Linked DNA regions of Homo sapiens: all the other regions are linked to region 1. The links are contacts of gene promoters, found by promoter capture Hi-C in blood cells and fetal thymus (Javierre and others, 2016). All regions are on one chromosome and are shown on one strand. The core of a region is centred on a gene start or on the middle of the fragment in contact, and the rest is flanking DNA. Distances in the headings are between cores, read along the strand shown. Region 1 holds the start of PRKCH (protein kinase C eta). Region 2 overlaps HIF1A-AS1 (HIF1A antisense RNA 1). Region 3 overlaps HIF1A (hypoxia inducible factor 1 subunit alpha). Region 4 overlaps HIF1A (hypoxia inducible factor 1 subunit alpha). Region 5 has its middle 13 kb from the start of SYT16.

The links. The method cuts DNA at HindIII sites, captures the fragments that hold promoters and counts their contacts. A CHiCAGO score of 5 or more calls a contact.
Region 2: a fragment that was not itself captured here is called in contact with the fragment with the promoter of PRKCH in region 1 in 1 of 17 cell types (naive CD4 T cells); the score reaches 6.2 in naive CD4 T cells.
Region 3: a fragment that was not itself captured here is called in contact with the fragment with the promoter of PRKCH in region 1 in 6 of 17 cell types (non-activated CD4 T cells, total CD4 T cells, fetal thymus and 3 more); the score reaches 10.2 in non-activated CD4 T cells.
Region 4: a fragment that was not itself captured here is called in contact with the fragment with the promoter of PRKCH in region 1 in 7 of 17 cell types (non-activated CD4 T cells, naive CD4 T cells, naive CD8 T cells and 4 more); the score reaches 15.6 in non-activated CD4 T cells.
Region 5: a fragment that was not itself captured here is called in contact with the fragment with the promoter of PRKCH in region 1 in 2 of 17 cell types (activated CD4 T cells and non-activated CD4 T cells); the score reaches 6.9 in activated CD4 T cells.

Annotation. Positions count from the first base shown.
Region 1 is chr14:61,319,793-61,324,230 of GRCh38, reverse strand. It overlaps PRKCH (protein kinase C eta), which reads right to left and starts at 2,652. Exons shown (of 14, transcript NM_006255.5): 1 at 1,767-2,652. The coding sequence starts at 2,129. It overlaps PRKCH-AS1 (PRKCH antisense RNA 1), which reads left to right and starts at 1,413. Exons shown (of 5, transcript NR_186042.1): 1 at 1,413-1,696. RefSeq lists enhancers at 1,220-1,763, 1,764-2,308 and silencers at 2,270-2,439, 2,590-2,859. The HindIII fragment of the contact is 5,451 bases long and covers 1-3,549 here.
Region 2 is chr14:61,679,741-61,684,057 of GRCh38, reverse strand. HIF1A-AS1 (HIF1A antisense RNA 1) reads left to right here. Exons shown (of 2, transcript NR_047116.1): 2 at 2,483-3,017. Among named protein-coding and RNA genes, the nearest start is that of HIF1A, 14 kb to the left of the region's middle. The HindIII fragment of the contact is 1,884 bases long and covers 1,193-3,076 here.
Region 3 is chr14:61,702,530-61,706,693 of GRCh38, reverse strand. All of the region lies in intron 1 of HIF1A (hypoxia inducible factor 1 subunit alpha), which reads right to left. Among named protein-coding and RNA genes, the nearest start is that of HIF1A-AS1, 8.8 kb to the right of the region's middle. The HindIII fragment of the contact is 3,401 bases long and covers 85-3,485 here.
Region 4 is chr14:61,723,087-61,727,426 of GRCh38, reverse strand. HIF1A (hypoxia inducible factor 1 subunit alpha) reads right to left here. Exons shown (of 15, transcript NM_001530.4): 5 at 609-721. All of the region lies in intron 1 of HIF1A-AS3 (HIF1A antisense RNA 3), which reads left to right. Among named protein-coding and RNA genes, the nearest start is that of HIF1A-AS2, 24 kb to the left of the region's middle. The HindIII fragment of the contact is 2,199 bases long and covers 984-3,182 here.
Region 5 is chr14:61,797,690-61,801,670 of GRCh38, reverse strand. No RefSeq gene overlaps it. Among named protein-coding and RNA genes, the nearest start is that of SYT16, 13 kb to the left of the region's middle. The HindIII fragment of the contact is 2,517 bases long and covers 596-3,112 here.

The DNA.
Region 1 (4,438 bases), core at 1,403-3,902:
CTAGTCAGATAACGTGGATCTTCCTACACTTATGACACCAAGAAGTCCTCATCTTTTGGTCTTCATGTAGGCTGCAGGTTCTCCACCTCGACTGCATACTGGAATCACCTGGTGAGCCTAAAAGTACGGATGATGGGGTCCCACAGCCAGAGATTCCTATCTAGAATCTTTAAAAGTGGGGATTTTTTAAAGGTCCCTGGGTGATTCAAGTGGGAAGATTATGGTTGAGAAGGACGAGTCTAGGCTATCTCCAGGAAGAGATGCTTCTCATGGCCACTGGCCAATCTGCACCACCATAATTCAGAACCTAGTTCCTCTAGAGCTTTGCCCGACCTAACTCCTAATCAGACACTAATAGAACTCAACAATTCCATCTGGATGCCTACACTCACTTCTATTTCATTTCCAGAAATTCACAGGATAAATGTAAATATCTAACTGTATTTTAGCAATTCCTCTCTAGTCCCCACTTCTAAGTACCACAAAGTAAATTAGGCTGAAGGGAAATTAACTCAATATAATTTGACGATTAAGGTTAGTCATTATGGTTTTTGTACTTCTATTTAAAAGAAAGGAATAGCTCCACAAGCCATCTTTAATTTTAGAAAATATACGGTAAAATTACTAATTCCACAAAGTATAAAATAAATACCTAAATGAGCCTTCATCACCATCCATCTGATTTCACCACTTGTAAATTTCAAACATTTTCAATACTGATATTGGGTTCAAAACTGACTCCCTCCAGAACTTAAACTATTAAACTCCTGAGAGTCTTCAAATGGCGTACTCCACTTTGCCAAACCAGACTACTTTATTATAATTATCATTCCATCATCTCAAAGTGGGAACGATGACACCTGCATCACAAAGACAGTGTGAGGATTAGGCAGTAAAAGCATGTTAGCACCGTGTAGAGCGCTCTAGAAGTTTTAATTGATTTACAGCAGAAATTATGCCTCCTGGGAACTATGTGAAAAGCAGAGGCAAGGGGAGAGCTGCGGGTAGCTACACGTCAATACCCAGGAACACAGGCTGGTGATGGGGGGAGGGAAGACAGTTAACAACCTCCTGAGGAGTCCTTACAGCCTCTTCTCAGACCCATAGCAGCAGAAACCCACACTGCAGGACTCCCACCTCGGACTGACTAAGTTACTTGCAAGTATATGTAAATCTCATCTCCTTGGAAAAATGCTAAATAATAAAACTGCCAACGTGCAGACCCAGGCGCTCATTTCCCTGCCAGTGTAGCTCATGTACCTCTGGGATGTGCAAGCCGAAACACGTGTGCACGTCTGAGCGGCTGAACCAACATGTATCCATAAACATTATGAATAATACTCGCGAGAATGTACGGCTTTCTCCTAAGTAGCGCTTGAAGCACTTTACCCAAATCAAGTCCCTTTTGTATCACTCCTTCCCTGCCTTTCCTACCTATCACTCTCGTGCTGAAAGTTGGAGCTCCTTACCCAAAGACTGGGCGGAAAGGGTGACCGCCCTGGACCCCTGCCCGACTTCCCGTTAGGCCAAGCCGCTGTCCTGAAAGGGGATCGTGTCCAGGCCGGCTTCCTGGAGACACACCTGCGCCTGCACACACCCACCGCGGTCGCGTCACCAGTGCCGCGGCCACGTGGACGAAGACCAAAGTCTGGAGGGAATTCCCTCAGCCACAAAGCGATGGGAAAGCGGGACCCGGGTGAGTTTTGAAAAACATAAGGGGAACGGGGGTTGGGTGGACACAAAGGGAAGGGGTCACCGCTACTCACCCAACCCTCGAAGGTGTCCGAGGCGCCGGTCGTGCGCAGCAGCTCCTGGAACTGCAGGGTGCAGTTGGCCACGAAGTGGTCGTAGCCCAGGGGCGTCTCGTGGAAGACGGCCAACTCGAGGTGGCCGCCGTCGGTGACGTTAGCGCAAAACTCCTCGTTGTACGTGGGTTTGTTGGTCTTCTGCTTGGTGCTGGTCTGGCCCACGCGCACCTGGTCCACGCTCACCGTCAGATAGGGGTCCAGCAGCTGGTGGCCCTTCTTGAAGAGCGAGTGGCGCAGGGACCAGCGGGTGGGCTGCAGCCCCACTGCCTCACCGATGCGGACCCTCAAATAGCCATTGAACTTCATGGTGCCAGACGACATGCCGGCGCCGCTGCCCCGGCCCCGGGGGGCCGCGCTGCTTCGCAGCGGGAGAACCGGGAGTCCCGTCTCAGGCCAGCCCTCGGGACAGGTGCAGGAGTCGAGGCAGCCCTGGGGAAAGGCAGCGCCTAAGCGCCCCTCGACTGGCCATTCTGCCTCCTCCGTGGGACTTTTCCCTCCCCTCCTTCCCTCCCTCCCGAGGTGGAAAGGAGGGGAGCCCGCCGCCGAGCCCTCAGCGGGCCGGGGAAGCCCGACCGTCCCTTCCAAGCGCGCGGCGCCTCCCGGGGACTCGCGCAGGACTCGCCCCTTCTCCAGGGCCGGGCAGCTCCTCTCCCTGGAGAGCCGGACCTACCCGTCCGGTGAGCCCCAGCCCCAAGCGTCTCTTCCCCCGCCTCCTCTTGCTTCTCCTCCTGCCCCCGCCTCCGAAGGCTCACGCTCTCCCCCACTCGGCGAGCTTCAAACCAGGAAGCAGCTGCCGCCGCCGCATCCCCGGCGAGAACCTCGCACCGCCAGGTTCCAAGTTCACAGAACCCCCGCGTCCGCTCCCGCGCCTTCCGGACCCCAGGGGCGTGGCCCGCGGTCCGCGGCCCGGCCCTGCGGTGGGTGGATCCCCGCGCAAGCCCCCGGGAGGCCAGTGCCCGCTTGCGCCGCCCTGCGCGCCCTCCTTGTAGCGCTGGGTCTGGCCGTGCGCTGCGGGTTAGGGGCCACCCCGGGCGCAGGCCAAAAAGGAAAGGGTTCGTGGCCCAGCCCGAGCAAACACCTGAGGCGTGGTAGACTGACCTGGGGAGCGATGGAAGGTTGGGAGGACGCAGAGGAGGGCGCTCCAGCCAGGAACCCGCGCGGCGAGGAGTCGCCCGCCCCCTCTCTCCCAACCTCCCCGGTGGGCTGGTGACCCTGCAGGGCCATCCCCAAGAGGCCCTGGCCGGAGGCGGGGGCACGGCGGGGAGGTTCTTTTTCCTAATATTTACAGGGATGGCTCATCCCGGGGTCAGCTCGAACGCATCCTGTTTGTGCGCCTTTCCTGCAGAGGCTAATTACACAGTTGTGTGTATGTGTGTGTTTTAATAGGGCAGTAGTAATGATGGAAATCCTGTTCGCCTCCTTCCTCGGAAGGTGTGTCTTGTTGCACATAGAGCAGGAAAGGTCGGTTCTTCTGGAGACAGACATGGCCAAGAGGTAATAAGTCTCTTCCTCTGCGGGTGGTTTCTGGTCCACCCAGCTCTGCGCGGCAAGGGCAGAAAATGTTCACACACACAGGCTGTCCCCAACACACACGCGGAAGAAATTGCCTCTTCTAGGAACACTCCAGCTTGTTGTATTTGCAGTCAGAGTGGGCAGCCTTCTGATGCTTCCCACCCCGTGGTCCCTGCAGATTTTGTCTCCGGGGAGGACCTTTTAGCCTACGCTGCTATGCCGCAAAGCTTGCTCCCTGAGGGCCAGCCACAACCAATTTGTTCCCCAAAAAGCCTAGGCCACTTTTTGTTGTTGTTGTTGTTGTTGTTTTTGAGACGGAGTTTCGCTTTTGTTGCCCAGGCTGGAGTGCAATGGCGCCATCTCGGCTCACCGCAACCTCCGCCTCCCAGGTTCGAGCGATTCACCTGCCCCAGCCTCCCGAGTAGCTGGAATTACAGGCATGCGCCACCACGCCCGGCTAATTTTGTATTTTTAGTAGAGACAGGGTTTCTCCATGTTGGTCAGGCTGGTCTCAAACTCCCGACCTCAAGTGATTCGCCTGCCTCGGCCTCCCAAAGTGCTGAGATTACAGGCGTGAGCCACAGCACCCAGCCAAGCCTAGGCCACTCTTAAGATACTTGATTACATTCTGTCTTGCTATACTGGTTCCCTCGGAGCAGATTCGGCTTGCTTTCATTCCTTTCTTTCTTCCTTCCCTCCTTTCTTTCTTTTATGTTTTAGAGACTGGGTTTTGCTTTGTCATCCAGGCTGGAATACAGCGGTGTGATCATGGCTTACCATAACCTCCAGCTCCCAGGTTCAAGTGATCTTCCAGCCCCTGCCTCCTAAAGTGTTAAGATTACAGGCATGAGCCCCCGTGCCTGGCCCCAGGTTCATCTTTCTAGCCCCCACTCCTCTAAGGCCCTGTTCAGAACTTTCTAATTGAGTAGGTTCTCAACGATTTCACATGAGTGCAAGGAGGCCTGACCCGTAATAACAGCACTATACAGAATGAAAACAAGTAAGGACAATGGGCCAGGGGGGAAAGGGCCTGTCTTGAAAACACCAAAGCTTCCTTAGAGAACAAGGCAGGGATGCAACGCATCACTCTAATGACATCTTAGCTTTAGGCAGGGCTT
Region 2 (4,317 bases), core at 885-3,384, 360 kb before region 1:
TTTCATATTACAATATTGTTGGAGATTATTTCCTACAAATTCACATACATCTAATATTTTAAATTTTTTCTATATTCTACATCTGTTTATTTTTTAAATATTTAACATTTTATATATCATACATATCATATTAATAAACATAAAAGGACAGGCATAATGGCTCATGCCTGTAATCCCAGCACTTTGGGAGATCAAGGTGGGAGGATTGCTGAAAACAAATGTTTAATATTTTAAATATTATAAAATAAGCAGATGTATGATATGTAAAATATTTAAAATATGAAATATTTTAAATATAAATATTTATATGATATAAAAATATTTTATAAAGTAAACAGATGTATAATAAAGTCAACAAAATCACAAGAATTTAAAAATTAATGTGGCATTAATATTTATAAACAAGTATCTTTTACATTTAATTGCAAATAAAATTAGATTTCTCTAGGCAGGTTAGCAAGGAGACATTTAATAGCTAGGAAGACAAACTTTTATAGAATGAGAACCTTAGATATTAGTTTGCTTCAGGAAAACCCCACCATATCAATTTCCTTATCTGTTTGTGAAAGCTATCAACCTTAAATGAGAGGTAAATAGAGAAAATTACTTTCCACCTATATTCACTATTCCAACCAGTTAGAAGATTAGGGTTTTTCTTTCCTTTGTCCTTACTATCTATGGAGTGACTACAATGATTTCGCATCTCATACATCATTTTTCAGCAGCAAGGACACTATATCTCTTTATCGTAAATGACTAACAATTTCAAAATCCAGTTCAAACCAGCTTAGATATATCTGGTTTTTATGAAAGCAAAGGGTGAAAAATAGCCAATGAATCTAAGAATTCTTCTACTATAGAATTCACCTGCTAGATTTTGACCAAGCTACCATGACATGAATTAATATTATATAGTTATTTTTTTATTTGGGGCCAAAATTTAAATGTGTTCATATGTCTCTACAGGAGAAACATCTTCAAGTTCTATATACAGTCTGCTGAACTTCTGCCAAAACACTGCTGAACAATAACTCTTGTTAATTGGTGAATCTTCCAGAATTTTTGTGCATTTCCATCCTATTTTGTTTCAATGCTACGAAGAAAACTCTTTTTCTCGTATAATAATAATACAGGCAGTCAGGTGATGGAGAGTAGGTGAGAGAATCTCAAAATAAATCTTAGGACACAAGCTTTTACTTCTATAAGCTATTGTGACACAGTCATTCTCCCAAAAACAACTGTGGTTTCTATCAGGAAGAAAAACGCTATCAAAACATTGAAAATGCCAGTGAACGTGGCATTTAAAAGTTATTTTTTCCCCTAACTGTTAATTTTCACTACAAGTTGTATCTTTTTTATTTGAGGATTTTTACTATTTTAAAATGAAAAACTGTAATGGAAGAATTACAGCAGAAAAGAAAGAAGGATCATACATAGCTTAATATTTATCCTAACTTGGTTTTCTTCCCATGTGCCCTAAGCCACTGGCAATTCATATTTTCCAAATTTTGGGTGGATAATGTTTTCCCTTTGATTTTTTTTTGTGGGTAATGAAGGAACATTAGCTGTTTGGCTCTTATATTGGAAAACTTATAAAGTTTCCTTTGGTTAAGTGTGTCAGAACTTGTCTACGAAGAAGCAGAAGCAGTCACAAGAAGTTGATTAATTTTATACCTGGACTTGCAAAGACAGGTTAGCTACTCTCTTGTGTGAGTGTAAATTACATGGCAGTATCAAGTAAGCCAGAACTTCACAGGATTATCTTATTACAGGGATCATGATATTAAATAGGTACAATGTGCCAAGTTTTGGGGTGGATCTTGGGAATTGCAGACACCCTCTAACGTTACCTGGACCAACACTTTCTGGTCCTGACTATACCTCCGCCCCTCACTTTTTGTCTGCTCTTCTAGGATCATAAGAGACAAAAGGAAGACCATCCAGTGGGTTGTATCTGTGTTTAGACAGACAAGCATCTGGATTCTTCAACTGACTGTCTCTACCACATCCCCCATGTGACCAGGCAAACAGAACATTTTCTGATTTTGCTGCACAGACATTCTCCAAGCCCTGTTCCAGATCCTCTTAGCGAGATCTATTGCAACTCGGTTCAGGAACAAGAGTTTGCTTGCCTCAAGATCTTGTTGCTATTGATACTTCATTGATACTTGCTGCTGGAGCAAAGACAAATCCCAGTGCTTGGCTATCTGAGGAACTGTGGGAGGAAATAAGCTGAGAAAACTATGCCTTGGAATAACAGAAGTCCACCCTAAAACACTATTATATTATATTGGTGTAGTGGTGGATACATGAATGTATGCATATCTTAAATCAAGCTCACACAAAATGACTTATTTTATTGTATGTAAATTTTACCTCCATAAAGTTTGTTAGAAATGATACTGTCATAAAGAGGCTCACCACCTGTTCACTGTATTGCTCTTCTAATTTCTGTTCCTTTCCTTCATGCGATCCTCACCAGACTACAGTTCAACTGTCAATTGGTTGATCACCCGGATTTTATCTACACCTTAGCCTATGGTTGTTCATCTCGTCTCTGCCTATGGCCCATTGACTCCCGGATCCCAGCTCCATTCTTCGGTACTTTACGCACCCTGCTTCCAGTACCCCAACCAGAAGAATATATATAGCAGTTAACTGTCAGCTGGCGAAAAGGAGGAAAATTCAGGAAGATAAAATAGCTGAATGAATTATCCCCGCTCCAGAACGCAGAGGAAAAATGAAATGGCCAGACCCAGATGTTAAAAATGTGTTCCTTGCTCTTTCCTGCCCTAGCAAGGGCTGTTCCATGTTTAGGGGATGAATGCCGCTGAGAGTATTAGCAAAAATACATGTGTCATTGAGTCTGAGGAAGATAACTGAGACATACAGGTATTTCTCATAATGCATGTGGGCATCCATAGACATATTCTTAAATGGCTTAAGGACTTGGAAACTACCTCTAGGAAACCTGAAACTTGAATGTTGGTCCACTAGGGAGAAGAAATGTTCCATTAGCCTTCCAACTAAAGAAATACACTATCAAGAAGAACATTAGCTGTGTGTCCTATAAGCTTGGGAGAATAACTTACTTTTATTTTAATACATATGTTACTTTTATGGTCAGTATTTTGGTAAAATATATGCTCTATTATGGCAGTAATTTGTCTGTCTTATTAAATGCTATATCTGCAGTACCTTCTGTGCATAACACAGCAAAGGAGCTCAATAAATATCATTTTGTTGCTGCCCTAAAAAGAGTTCCAGGAGCACTGGTGTGTAGAAGCTCTGGAAATAAGGAATGGTGTGAATAAATAAATAGCTTACTTGGAAGCTCAGTGAAACCCATGTTGGATAATTGCTGTGTTAACTAATCCCAGAAAAGGGAGAATTAGTATCCTTGAGGACAGTCTTTTAGGATGTGGTGAAGTGATTGCTATTTATGGATCAGGATCTTGAGTTCTTGACCTGTTCCACCATCCACAATTCTGATAACACTTCCTTCTTTATGCTTCACTTTTTTCATCCTAAAATAAGGGATTTGAGCATATGATCTCCAATTCTCTTCTAGCTCTAACATTTTATGACAAAGCTCCTTTAAAATAATTTATTTTACACAGTCCTTAGAAAATTAAGACTGAGAGGCCAGGCATGGTAGCTCAAGCCTGTAATCCCAGCACTTTGGGAGGCCGAGGCGGGTGGATCACGAGATCAGGAGATCAAGACCATCCTGACTAACACGGTGAAACCCCATCTCTACTAAAAATACAAAAAAATTAGCCAGGCGTGGTGGCGGGCACCTGTAGTCCCAGCTACTCAGGACGCTGAGGCAGGAGAGTCGCGTGAACCCAGAAGGCGGAGCTTGCAGTGAGCCAAGATCATGCCACTGCACTCCAGCCTGGGCGACAGAGTGAGACTCTGTCTCAAAAAAAAAAAAGAAAATTAAGACTGAGAAACGTAGAGTGAGTATTATAACTAAATAGGTGGACAATTAGAGTCAAAGACCAAATTTTTGTTAAGTATTACAAAGATAAGAATTCTTCACATTTGAATTGAACATTTAATATTTTCAAAGTGCATTTGCATCCATCTCCTTATTTGATTTTCAAAGCCACCATGCAAAACTATTTAATACATTGCACTAAGAAATAGGTTTATGGCAGGAGTTTACAAAGAAAATTAGTGATAAGACTAGGATTCAAATCTCCAGAATCCTGTTTTAGTTTTTTTCCTTTTAAATATATATTAAGTTGCCTAGTAAAATATTTTACAAATATTTATTTTGAAAATATAATAGGGCATTTCTGGGTTGGCCAA
Region 3 (4,164 bases), core at 536-3,035, 380 kb before region 1:
CTGGGAATCCATAGAGCAACTAGACACTCAGGTGATTTAACCACAGAAGTTTGAGAAACATTAGCAGGTCTTAAAGCAAAAGCTTAACAGGTAGGCCAGCAAATTTTGAAAAACGAGAATAATTTATTTTTAGCTATAACTGAATACACATCCTATAACATACCATGTTTGTCAGGCAAAACACTGAATATAGTGAGTTTCACAATACTATGTAATGTGAGGTATAATTGCTAAGAATAAGAAGCTAGCAGTAAAAGTCAATAAGCCAGCAAGAACAAGTGTGCGTTTAGTAAAACTTTGCCTTAAACACGTAAGTGCATGAGTAGAGTTCAAAGATGACCTAAGGAAGAATGTGGCAACTGAATTTTTTTCCAGTTCTCTGAAACAATTTTTTAAAAGTCAGCTTTTAATACCTTCATGAATGTCACAAACATTCAAGAGTGAAGAATCACTGTTCATGGTTAAGAGCTGTGTATCACTGACTTTCCCCAAATTACCTACTCTATCACTCTTCTTTCTCTGCATTGCTTCCTTCTCAGCTTGTAAATCCTTTTCTTTCTGTTTCCCTTATTTATATGCTCTTAGATGGTAACAGATCTAAGACTAGAACCTAAGAAGGTCAGTGACCCTAAACTTTGTGTGTATGTAGAAGAATGTGTCCTTGAAATAATTATTTGCTTAACTTTAATAGAAGATGCATAAATAATAATAAAGTACTTACATAACAGGAAAAAACACATGTATTGAAATAAGGGTGTACAATAGAAAGCATACCCTAAAGACTTCTTCTATTAAATATTTAGCTCTAAACCTTGACCATGATTAAGATTCTGGAAATGACAAAGGAGCAGCTCTCCTAAAGCAAGAGTCTCTGTTTTCCAACTATACTAATCCATCCTATCCAATATTACCAAATAAATTTTCCAAAGTGACCTTCTGATCCTGTTTCTTTGTCTTTAAAAAGGGTTAGGTAACACTATTAGTGTGTGGCAGATCTCAGATTCCACCTGAGAATCTCCACCCTTTTCCCCATTTTAATATGAAGCCCCATTTTTAATATGGCCTATGCCTTTCCACAAATCAGATGCTCAATATATAATTTTTAAATTAAAAGATTCAAGAAATTTGGGACTATTTTTTAAGAATAGAAGGAAGAAACATGATAGCTACCCTCAGATATTTGAAAAGGATATCAAACAAAAGGCGGATTTGGTAATTTATACAACTCCAGAGAGTAATAAATAGGAATTACAACATGGCAGTGCTTTGTTTAATAGAGTTAAAGCAGTGTTGAAGTTACACTCTATGAGAATTTTTAAAACCGTGTTTTCATTTTGGTGGCATTGTAAAAAAAGAAAAGGCATATTCTACATCATCTAAATGATCTCTCCATAGTTCTGTATACTTGCCTCAAGCCTTCTGTGTTTGAGGCTGCATTTGTTTATGATCAAACTGTTACCAAATGACCACTAAAAGGAACAAGGTTACATTTTTTAATGCAGTATACATACTCAGACTGAGGTCACTGGGTACATCTCAAAAATTCAGAGGATTATTTTGCTCCAAAAGAGATCTGAACATTAATCCTGTGTTAAGAAACACAGGAATAAAAAAGAAAATAAGTAGATTGTCTTGTGAGAATGTTTTGTGTATGTATGTCTGAAAATTCTAAAAGCAGACTGGCCAATGCGCCTGTGGTGGTTGACATTAAATAACAAAACTTAAACCCAAAAGTCTGTACTTCGCAAGAACCTCAAACTTTAAAGTGCAATGAACTGAAAATTTAAAAATGGAATATGCTATGAATGAATGAATGAACATAAAAAATGGAATGTTCAACTGTGGCCTAAGCCATCAACGATTCAATGCTGTACTCAATAAATTAGCTGCACAAATACCTGTTGAATAAATGAATGCACAACAATCTGTTACAGGACATAGTATAATAGTTAGGTGCCTGAGTCATGGTTAAGCGTTGAAGAAATTTTTTGAACCACTGAAATAAGTCAACTTAAATTATTCAAGAAAATATCCCTTCATCCATTCACAGTGAAGGCTTTGACTACTGGTTTGACACTATAACCATTTAAATATTTTAACTATGTTAGCTACAAAGGCAGGCAATATCCAACTTTCCTCTGCTAACAAGTTAAAAGACATTTAATGAGATTCTGGACACAAAGGACATGGAAATGTAGGCTTTCTTAATTTCCCCCTCCTTTAACATCCCAAATAAATAGCTTTGAGAACATTTTTCTTCCTTTAGTATTACCACTATGGAAAATTATTTTAGAATAACATGTCTATACATAAACCAGTATTTAGTCTGCAAAGGCCAGATGTTTATGGAAAAAAAACCAAGTAAAGGAAAAGCATCAGTAACTATTCTGCCACTATTATTTACTCACTGGTGGTGAATAGCCTTCGTCAGATTATCACAAAGAAGGCTTGAGCGATTCTAAACAATGTTGAAAACAACTTAACCAATACTATAATATTATGAATATATGGATAGTTTCTACTTAATTAAGCCCTTACTTTGTGCCAAGAGCTGTTCTGAGTGTTTCATATGAGTTGATGTATCATTTCATTCTCATAACAATCCTATAAGGCAATTATTCTTATCATCCCAATAAAGCAATTTGTGTAAGATCACACAGTAGAGCTAAACGATCTAGAAAAATGTGTGATCTTAACACATATTTAGTAGAGAAAAGGATCATCTTTTTCTTGAGATGAAAACCCTAACCCATAGAAGAAATACTCAACTTCCCAAAAGTCATGACAAGAACAGCTTGCAGAATGACTACACTTGGTAGAAAACTATAGAATATGAATTCAAATGACTTGCAACAAAAACTCATGGCCCATTAATTACTGGTCAAGAGTTCTGTGTATAGTAAGATAATATTCTACAAGAAGACCATCAAATATGCTACAATAAGACATATTTGACTCATGTAATCAGGGAACTCCATTCACATGGCCAAGTAGGGCAAAACGTTTTCTTCTAGGAAACTGATATATAGACACTAGAAGAGAGAGGGAGTTTTTTTTACTTTTTTTTTTTTTATATTACAAACTGTATGGATGCAGGTATGGGGATGCTAGCCGTCCTCTTCCACACCATACAGACAGCCTGTCAGTGGCAGAGTAAGGCCAGCATGCAAATAGAGCAAAGGTATACAAGCCAAGTAATATCAAGACAAAAGTCAGGGATTATTACACTCTGAGATCATTTGAGACTCTAGATTTGTCTCTTAAACCAAAATTAGATTGTGTTAGCCAATGACTACATTTTCCCCTCTTAAACTAGATTGAGTTGTATTTTGCTACTTGCAATAAGAAGAATCCTAATATACTTATCAAATTGCCAGTGTTCCAAATTTAAAACTTTAATGATGATAAAGTTCAAGAAAATGACACTCTAAAATACAACTAGGTCAAACTTTCTAGAAGATAAACAGGCAATTACATTGAAAGCTTTAAAATGGATACTTTTTGACCCTGTAATTCTACTTCTTCTAATTTATTATTAAGAAAGAACCATGAGGCCGGGCATGGTGGCTCACGCCTGTAATCTCAGCACTTTTCTCACTTTTTTGAGAATAGGTTTGATAAAAAGGCAGTAATGGTAAAACAGACTATATCTGAAATCTGGAGAGTATTAAGAGCCATATATTATGTTAAGTACCCAACATTAATATTATCTAATTTAACCATCACCACAAGCCTACAAAATTCTGATACTCTTCCTCACTATTTAGATGGGAAAAAATGTAGATGTAAATTTTTTAAAAGCAGGTTAAAAACAGTACTCAGTCCCTAATCCTACAGTTATTAACATACAGATGTAACACAGAATTGAGAAATAGTAGACAATGGTCTCTACATAGTGAAAAAGCAGGTGATTTTTATTTCTTTGTGCACCTGTGTAGTTTTTAAATTTTTTCCTCCAAAATTTTAAAATTTCATTAACATTAAAATAGTTTAGCCAGATCAAATGATTGTAAACACACTCAGGGAACTCCTATTTAAATGGTATTCTATTATAAAGCAAAGAGAATAATCAATGCTCTTCTATTATAAAGCAAAGAAAATAAACCCCAACCTTACTATAAAGTAATAGAATTTAAATATCTATATCAAAAAAAGTCAAAGGAG
Region 4 (4,340 bases), core at 834-3,333, 400 kb before region 1:
AAAAAATATTTACAATGCTAGGGAAAAAAAAAGCAGAGATAAGTAGTTGAGTCTGACATGGCCAGTAAGCTTTGATAAAATTTACTGTCACTAGTGGATTAATCACGTTTTTGAAAATCAATGAACATTTTTCCTATGATACCACCTATGACCTACTTCCTGCCCAGGGCCTATACATTACTCTTTAAAAAATTCCCCTCGTATAAAGTCTAGGCTGCTTTTTCATTCATCTCATCATCATGGCTGTTTGATAGTTATTTCTTGCACTGATGACTATGTTTCAACATTGAACAAAGATATAAAACCATGATTAATAGAAAATTAAGCCCTATCAGGATTCAAATATTGTGTGGCTGGCAAAGCCAACTGATTAAGCCTGGAACACCAGTGCCACAATTCACGTAATTTAAGTTTGTGCCTCAAATTGGCAAATTACTACACGGTTCTGCATTTTGGAGATCACATGCAAATGAGTTGAAGATATAAATGTTACATAACCAAACACCATGGAACTGTAAACCTTCCCTCACAATTCTAAAGTTATCTTAATACTACAATGTCTATGTATAAATAAAGTGTATAATCAATCACAAATAATTTTCACTTACCTTCCATGTTGCAGACTTTATGTTCATAGTTCTTCCTCGGCTAGTTAGGGTACACTTCATTCTGAGAAAAAAGCTTCGCTGTGTGTTTTGTTCTTTACCCTTTTTCACAAGGCCTAATGAAAGCATGAAATAAAGTTTTAAAGCAACTAAATATACAAATTTGTTACAATAAAAGTAACAAAGTGCCCATCACCTAGATCAACTGAATACCCGTTCAATTAAGTCTCAGCATGAACACAGTAATTCATTCCCCTTTTACTCACTCCAGCACACCCAAGAGATCTGACACACACTACTCAGTAGCTGTGATTCCCTGAGTTGGCTGAAAGATAATCCATATTTGGGATAACAGTTAATCATTGAAGCCAGTAAGCTTAGTCAAATACACAGAAATATAAAAATGGTATGAGTTTGCTCTTTAACTGTGCTATCGGTACACAAGAATCCCTAAAGAAAGAACTTCAGCAAACTCTTCCTATCCTTTCCTGAATGTGTTAGCTCAATTTCTAATAAGCACTCTATGTCTTTATAGAACCTTTAAAATAACAACTTTCTTTTTAATAACAAATAACATTTTTACGTATCTTATTTTTTTCCCCTTAATTTATCTAGTAAAGCAGGCAGAAAATTACTTCTACTTTGTTACTATGAGAAAACAACAACAACAGATCAAATGACTTATCAAAAGTTACAGAAATAGGCAGGGCACGGTGGCTCATGCCTGTAATCCCAGCACTTTGGGAGGCTGAGGCAAGAGGATCACTTGAGGTCAGGAGTTCGAAACCGGCCTGGCCAACATGGTGAAACCCTGTCTCTACTAAAAATACAAAAATTAGCTGGGTGTGATAGTGGGTGCCTGTAATCCCAGCTACTTGGGAGACTGAGGCAGGGGAATCACTCGAACGTGGGAGGCAGAGGTTGCAGTGAGCTGAGACTGTGCCACTGCACTCCAACCTGGGATATAGAGCGAGAATCCATCTCAAAAAAAAAAAGCTACAGAAATAAAGTCAGAATTAAGTAAAGTCTATTCACTCCAATTTCAAACCTTCTATAACTAAAAATGAGATTATATTTAGGTGACTGAGAAAAGAGCATCTTGCTGGGCGCAGTGGCTTATGCCTCATGCCTGTAATCCCAGCACTTTGGGAGGCTGAGGCAGGAAGATCACTTGAGGACAGAAGTTTGAGACCATGCTGGCCATCATGGCAAAACCCCATCTCTACTAAAAATATAAATATCAGCTAGGTGTGGTGGCACATGCCTATAATCCCAGCTACTTGGGAGGTTGAGGCGTGAGAATCACTTGAACCCGGGAGGCAGAGGTTGTAGTGAACTGAGATTGTGCCACTGCACTCCAGCCTGGGTGACAAAGTGAGACACTGTCTCAAAAAAAAAAATTAAAAAAAATAAGGAACTAGCCTCTTGATTTCTTATCTTCATTGGTCAGTGTGCTTCAGAACACATATAAAAATATTTATTATTCAGAACCTGGACTAGATATTGTAGGCAATACAAAGATGAGTAAGATACGCCACCTTTCCTGAAGAAGTTAAAAATGTAGTAGATATAGTAAGGTCAACAAAAACACAATGTAGAGTTGGTACTTGAGACTTATAAAAATGCTTTAAAGAAGGATAGGGAGAGCTTAGAAGATAATTTCTAGTCAAGGGAAATCAAGAAGTCTTGCTTAGAAAAAGAGACATTAGAATGTCAGTAAGTAGAGATGGGTTAGAAGGGTATTCCAAGGAGAAGTAAGAGAATGAAAAGCACAGAGGTAGGAAAAATAGGACATGTTTGAAAAACAGCATATAGTAGTTTGTCCACAATGTAGAGTACACGTAGAAGAGTAGTAAGGCAAAGCTAGAAGGGAAGGTTAGGGCTGTACCACGGAGGGCTGTGGATGTCCACATGGAGTCCTGCCTAAATATTCAACAAGGGGCTTTAAAAAAGCACAATCAGTAACTTAAGGAAAATTAACTTAGCAGCAATATATATGTTAGAATTAGGTGACTGTAATGAGAGGGCTGAGCCAGTAGAGTATGAGGGAAAAGAATGGTGGCAAAAGACAAATGAAGAGGTAGAATCTTAATAGACTTGAAAACTGATGGAAATAAGACAGGAGAGAAATCAAATCTGGAAACTGTAATGCTAGTATATTGAAAAAACACTGTAAAGTAGAAAAGAAATGAGAGTAAGTTTAAATGTAGGCATGGTTAACTAGAAATGCTGGACTCTTGAGGAACAAGATGAATTCCAGCCTATACTCTATGAATAATGGAACTAGGAAAGATGGGCAGTCCTGGTGCTGATGCATGCCATTTGGGTTTACTTAGATTAAGAAGTGAATTTGCCCTCCCTGGAAGGATTTAAGAGTATATTTTTAAAAGATGCCATGAGAGCAAAGGAGGGGGAAGGGAAGGAGTGCGGGAGGGAGGGGGAGAGAGAGAGAGAGAGAGAGAGAGAGAGAGAATGTGTGTGTGTCGTGTGTGTGTAGGTGTTGATGGTTGTGGTAGTGGCAGTAAAGATCCACATGCAAAATCCTTTGGGTATGTTCAGTCCTTCATAAACTAAGCTTGAATTATACTGACCTTTGAAAGGAACCCAAGGCCTTTGAATGGGGACCTGCAGATTAATTTAAAAATCAAGGTAACTGAAAAGTACTAGTGTTTTCCTAATGAGGAAAAAAAAAACAAAAAACAAACAAACAAAAACAAACCATTAAAAAAACCTAAATTTTAAACTCTCTAAAAATAAGTCATATTTTGTATAATTTATAAATTCTAAAGCATTTTTCTAGAATTTATTTGGAAAATAGGACTATTTGTATAAACACACCACTGGCTCTCAGTGTATCACTAAAATGTGATGCTTTGCAATAGTCCCTGATTTCTAAAAGAGAAAAATCTGCATTTTAGTTTCCCAATGGAACATCAATAATTCATTAACCACATTAGTAATGATTTCAAAATGTTTGTGTGCTTTAAAAAAGAACATTTGGTTCGAAACATACATTTAAACTATATTAAGACTATCTGATTTAGAATAATGCATTAACATCATTACCAAATCAGAACAAGACTTCCTAATATCCATCCATTTATAGTCTAGCCCCAGGGAAGCACTGAGCAGTCAATATAAACCTCAACTCTGCACATTAGAACTCATATATTAAACTCATTGACAACCCACTTAGGTCCTTGTTCACAGCATATTTACTCCTCCTTTATACAGAATTCTAAAAAGTATGCATTTGTTTTCCAAATTAACAGTAAAAACACAATATGAAATTTAAAAACAGGAGTCAGGTCCTGCTGACAGAGTGAAAAAAGACAGAATGTGAGAATTCAAGAATATGAAAAGCGCTCCAAAGGACTAATGAGCGTGGACTCTGAAGCCAGTCTACTGAAGTTCAGCCCAAGCTCTGCCATTTACTAACCAAATAATGTTGGGAAAGTTACTTAGTAACTCTGTACCTCAGTTTCCTAGTAAAATAGAAATTGTCTAACAGTTAACTTCACAGGGTTGTTGTGAGGAATAAAGGAGTTAAAAGCATATAAAATAGGAAGAACAGTGTCCTGGCACACAGCATTCTCTCAATGGAGGTTAGCTATTATTATAATAAATGAGATGAAAAAGAAAACCTCAAAAATTATACAAAAAGTAAATTTGAGGTTTTATAATATAGAAGCAAACAAACGTATGCACTTAAATTGGAGAGCAACAAAGAACAGC
Region 5 (3,981 bases), core at 605-3,104, 480 kb before region 1:
TGAAAACCATGAAGAAGAACCAAGGAGAAATGTTAGAACTGAAAAATACTACATCTAAAATTAAAGTTATTGAATGGGATTAACAGCAGATTGAATACAAAAGAAGAAATAATTCATGAACTTGAAGACAAGTCAAATCATTCAATCTGAAGCACGGAGAGAAAAATTACTGGGGGTGTGGGAGGAAGCCACAATAACATTTGGGACAGTATTAAGCAGTTAACAGACATGTAATTGGAGTCCTAGAAAGAGAAGCAAGTGAGACCAGTACAGAAAAACATATACAATATACTGGAAAAATTAACTGCACTAGGCACATCATGCAAATGGCTGAAAATAAAGTAAAAAAAAAAAAAAAAAAAAACTTAAAAGTGGCCAGAGAAAAAGGGCGTGTTATATACCAAAAAATGGGTAAGAATGAAAACTTCTCATCAGAAACAATGAAGGCTGAAGACATGCAACAATCCTTAACGTGATGAAAGAAAAGAGGTGTCTACCTAGAATTCAAATCCAGGAAAAATATCCTTCAAAAATGGTTAAATAAAGACTCAGAAAAACAAAATCTGATAGAATTGATCTCCAACAGAACTAAGCTTCAATAAATTAAAAGAATGTCTCCAGGCTGAGGGAAAATTGTCCCAGGTGAAAGCATAGATTTGCATGAAGGAATGAAGAGCAGTGGATAAGGTTCCCATGTGGGTAAATGTAACAGCTTTTTCTCCTATTTTTTCCTTTATTTAAAGTAAGAATATAACTGTATGATGGGGTTTATATCATAGCAGTAAAATATGATGACAATATCTCAAAGGATGGAAGAGGATAAAATGGGATATATCCATCCCTAACTTACAGGTAGATTTTATTACGTCTCATATGCAGATTGTAATCTCAGAGCAAATCCACGCTGTCTGATACTCTTCCACTGTGCAATGCTGCATCAACTGAACTTTTTTTTTTCTTTTCTCTTTTTTTTTTTGAGATAAAGTCTCACTCTGTCCCCCAGGCTGGAGTGCAGTGGTGCAATCTTGGCTCACTGCAGCCTCCACCTCCTGGTTCAAGTGATTCTCCCACTTCAGCCTCCCAAGTAGCTGGGACTACATGCACGTGCCATCACACACGGCTAATTTTTGTGTTTTTAGTACAGATAGGGTTTCACCATGTTGGCCAGGCTGGTCTTGAACTCCGGACCTCAGGTGATCCACCTGCCTCAGACTCCCAAAGTGCTGGGATTACAGGCATTAGCCACCATGTCCAGCCAAGTGAACATTTTTGCCATTACTTGTTTACATTATGAAGTTAAAATATTTACGACTGTGTTTGCCATCATTATCATTTCCATCAAATCCATGAATAGAATGACAAATCCATGAAATGTTACAGGCTTGCCCTACTCACAACCCCTTCTGCAGAAAGCTGACAGAGTTGGGTCCTTCCCCATAATTTGCCCTGTCCTGAGGTATACGACCCTTCTATACTGTCCACAATTGATTGTATCAGGGATCTATGTCCTAGTTAAGGGGCATCATCCTTTCAGTTGGACATAAGGGAGGCCAGGCCGGGTGTGGTGGCTCACACCTGTAATCCCAGCACTTTGGGAGGCCAAGGCAGGCGGATCACTTGAGGTCAGGAGTTCAAGACCAGCCTGGCTAACATGGTGAAACCCCATCTCTACTAAAAATACAAAAATTAGCCAGGTGTGGTGGTGCGCATCTGTAATCCTAGCTATTCAGGAGGTTGAGGCAGGAGAATTGCTTGAGCACAGGAGGTGGAGGTTGCAGTGAGCCGAGATGGCACCACTGCACTCCAGCCTGGGCCACAGAGCAAGACTCTGTCTCAAAAAAAGTGGGGGAGGGAGGCGGGGCTGGGTGTGGTGGCTCACACCTGTAATCCTAGCACTTGGGGAGGCCAAGAGGAGTAGATCCTGAGGTCAAGAGTTTGGGACCAGCCTGGCCAACATGGTGAAACCCCGTCTCTATTAAAAATACAAAAAAAAAAATTAGCCGGGCGTGGTGGCACATACCTGTAGTCCCAGCTACTTGGGAGGCTGAGGCAGGAGAATCACTTGAACCTGGGGGGTGGAGGTTGCAGTGATCCAAGATTGCGGCTCTTCACTCCAGACTGGGTGAAAGAACGAAACTCCATCTCAAAAAAAAAAAAAAAAAAAAAAAAGGAGGCCAGTAGCCAGAATAATCTGCACCCTATCAGGGAGCTCTATTTTGGATTATAACTAATAGAATCAATCTGATCCTCTTTCAGGGACTATAGAGAACAAGAGAAGTAGCAAAGGGGAAAGTGGGCAGGGAAGCTGGAGAGCACATGAATAAGAGGATGCACATTGTAACTACAGGGCAATAGACATCCACTTCAAAAGCAAGGACTCAGCCCAGCCGTCTAAGCTGCTGGTGTTCACTACATTTTTTTTCCAGCTCTCCAAGAAGTTGTGCCTCTGATCAAGTATTAAAATAAGCCTCCAGCATTTAAGATAATGTCAATGTGACTTTGTTCCTTGTAACTTAAAGGACGCAGCCCGAATTCATCATAAAAAGAAAAATTCAGACCTGCAATATACAGCACATTAAAATAAATAAGTCAGGCATAAAAAATACCACATAAAAAAAATTATACAACCCGAAGTCGAGGCTTTGACATTTACTTTCATAAAGGGAATAAGAAAAATGTGCAATGAAAATTACTCTATAGTTGTTCAAAAGATGAAATGAAAACGTGTTCAAAATGAAAACGTGAATACTTAAGCACCCACAGAGTTTGCTCAATGGCATTTAAAAAGCAAGCATTCTTTAAACTAGAATTCAAGAATCAAGGGTAAGTTAGGAAGGCATTAGTAATTATGCTTATTTTCCTGGGCTCTTTACATCAAAATGAAAGTAATTTCCAGCCCATAAAGCTCATTTTTAAAGATACCGCAATTAAAGATATTTTATCTCTATATACATGTGTAAATCTTTTGTCATAACCAAAATAGGTTATTGGAAATAAAATATGTATTGTAGCCAATTCAAGTTAAAAAAAAGAAACCTGGGTCTCCTTCAGTTGTCAAGCCATGAGAGCTTGGTCTCATATCAATCTGAAGATCTGTGTAAACACATAAGCTTTCAATTATTATAACTTTAAAAAGCCGCTTCAAAAGTCACCACACAATTACTTTGGTTTCCTTGGCATCCAAGTACTTTTTAAAAGCTTACTTTTTAGCTGTAATTATTTTGAAGTTTAGCGTTTATATCTTTGCATTTCCATTTCCAAAGCACTCTGCAGTTCTTAATATTTTTGAACAAGTCAGTAAAATAGTTTTGTAGCACTTTAAAGTTTTTAACGTAGTTCCCTAATAAATCGCTGTTCTGAAAAATCCCTATATAAGACAAAGCCTTTGCTCAAAAGTTTGTTCATTGTCTTTCCTTTTGCTTGCAAATGGTACAACTGTGTCTGTCTCAGGGAACAATCACTTTAATTGGGTATTAAAGAGACTGGGAATGTTTCTCCTCATTGAATATATCCACTCACAGTTAGGAAAACTTTGAGTTATTAAGACAAAGGGGTTATAAACCCAGATGGGATCTTGGATGTGCTTACAACATAAACTCATAATAGTACTACAAAAAAAAAACAAAGATGACACTATGATTTCTCATAGAGAACTGCATATTCCCAGGGTAGTTTTCTTCTGAAGAAATTAGGATACTTTACTTCCAAAGTGAAAAATATTCCCCTAATTAAGCATCCATACAAGCTGCATTTTCCTTATGACTCCACTTTTTATTCATGGGTTTTAAGATACCCCAAATAAACCTGGTATATAACATTAATACTACTCTAATTCTAATTATCTACTTTGAACAACACTTTCATATACGGGGATTTCTGGGAGTGGTATGATTTTAAAACACAGTGTATGTTTATATACACTGCCACGACCCTTCTTCTCCCACAAAATATTAATTCAGCAAATATTTAATACTGAAATCA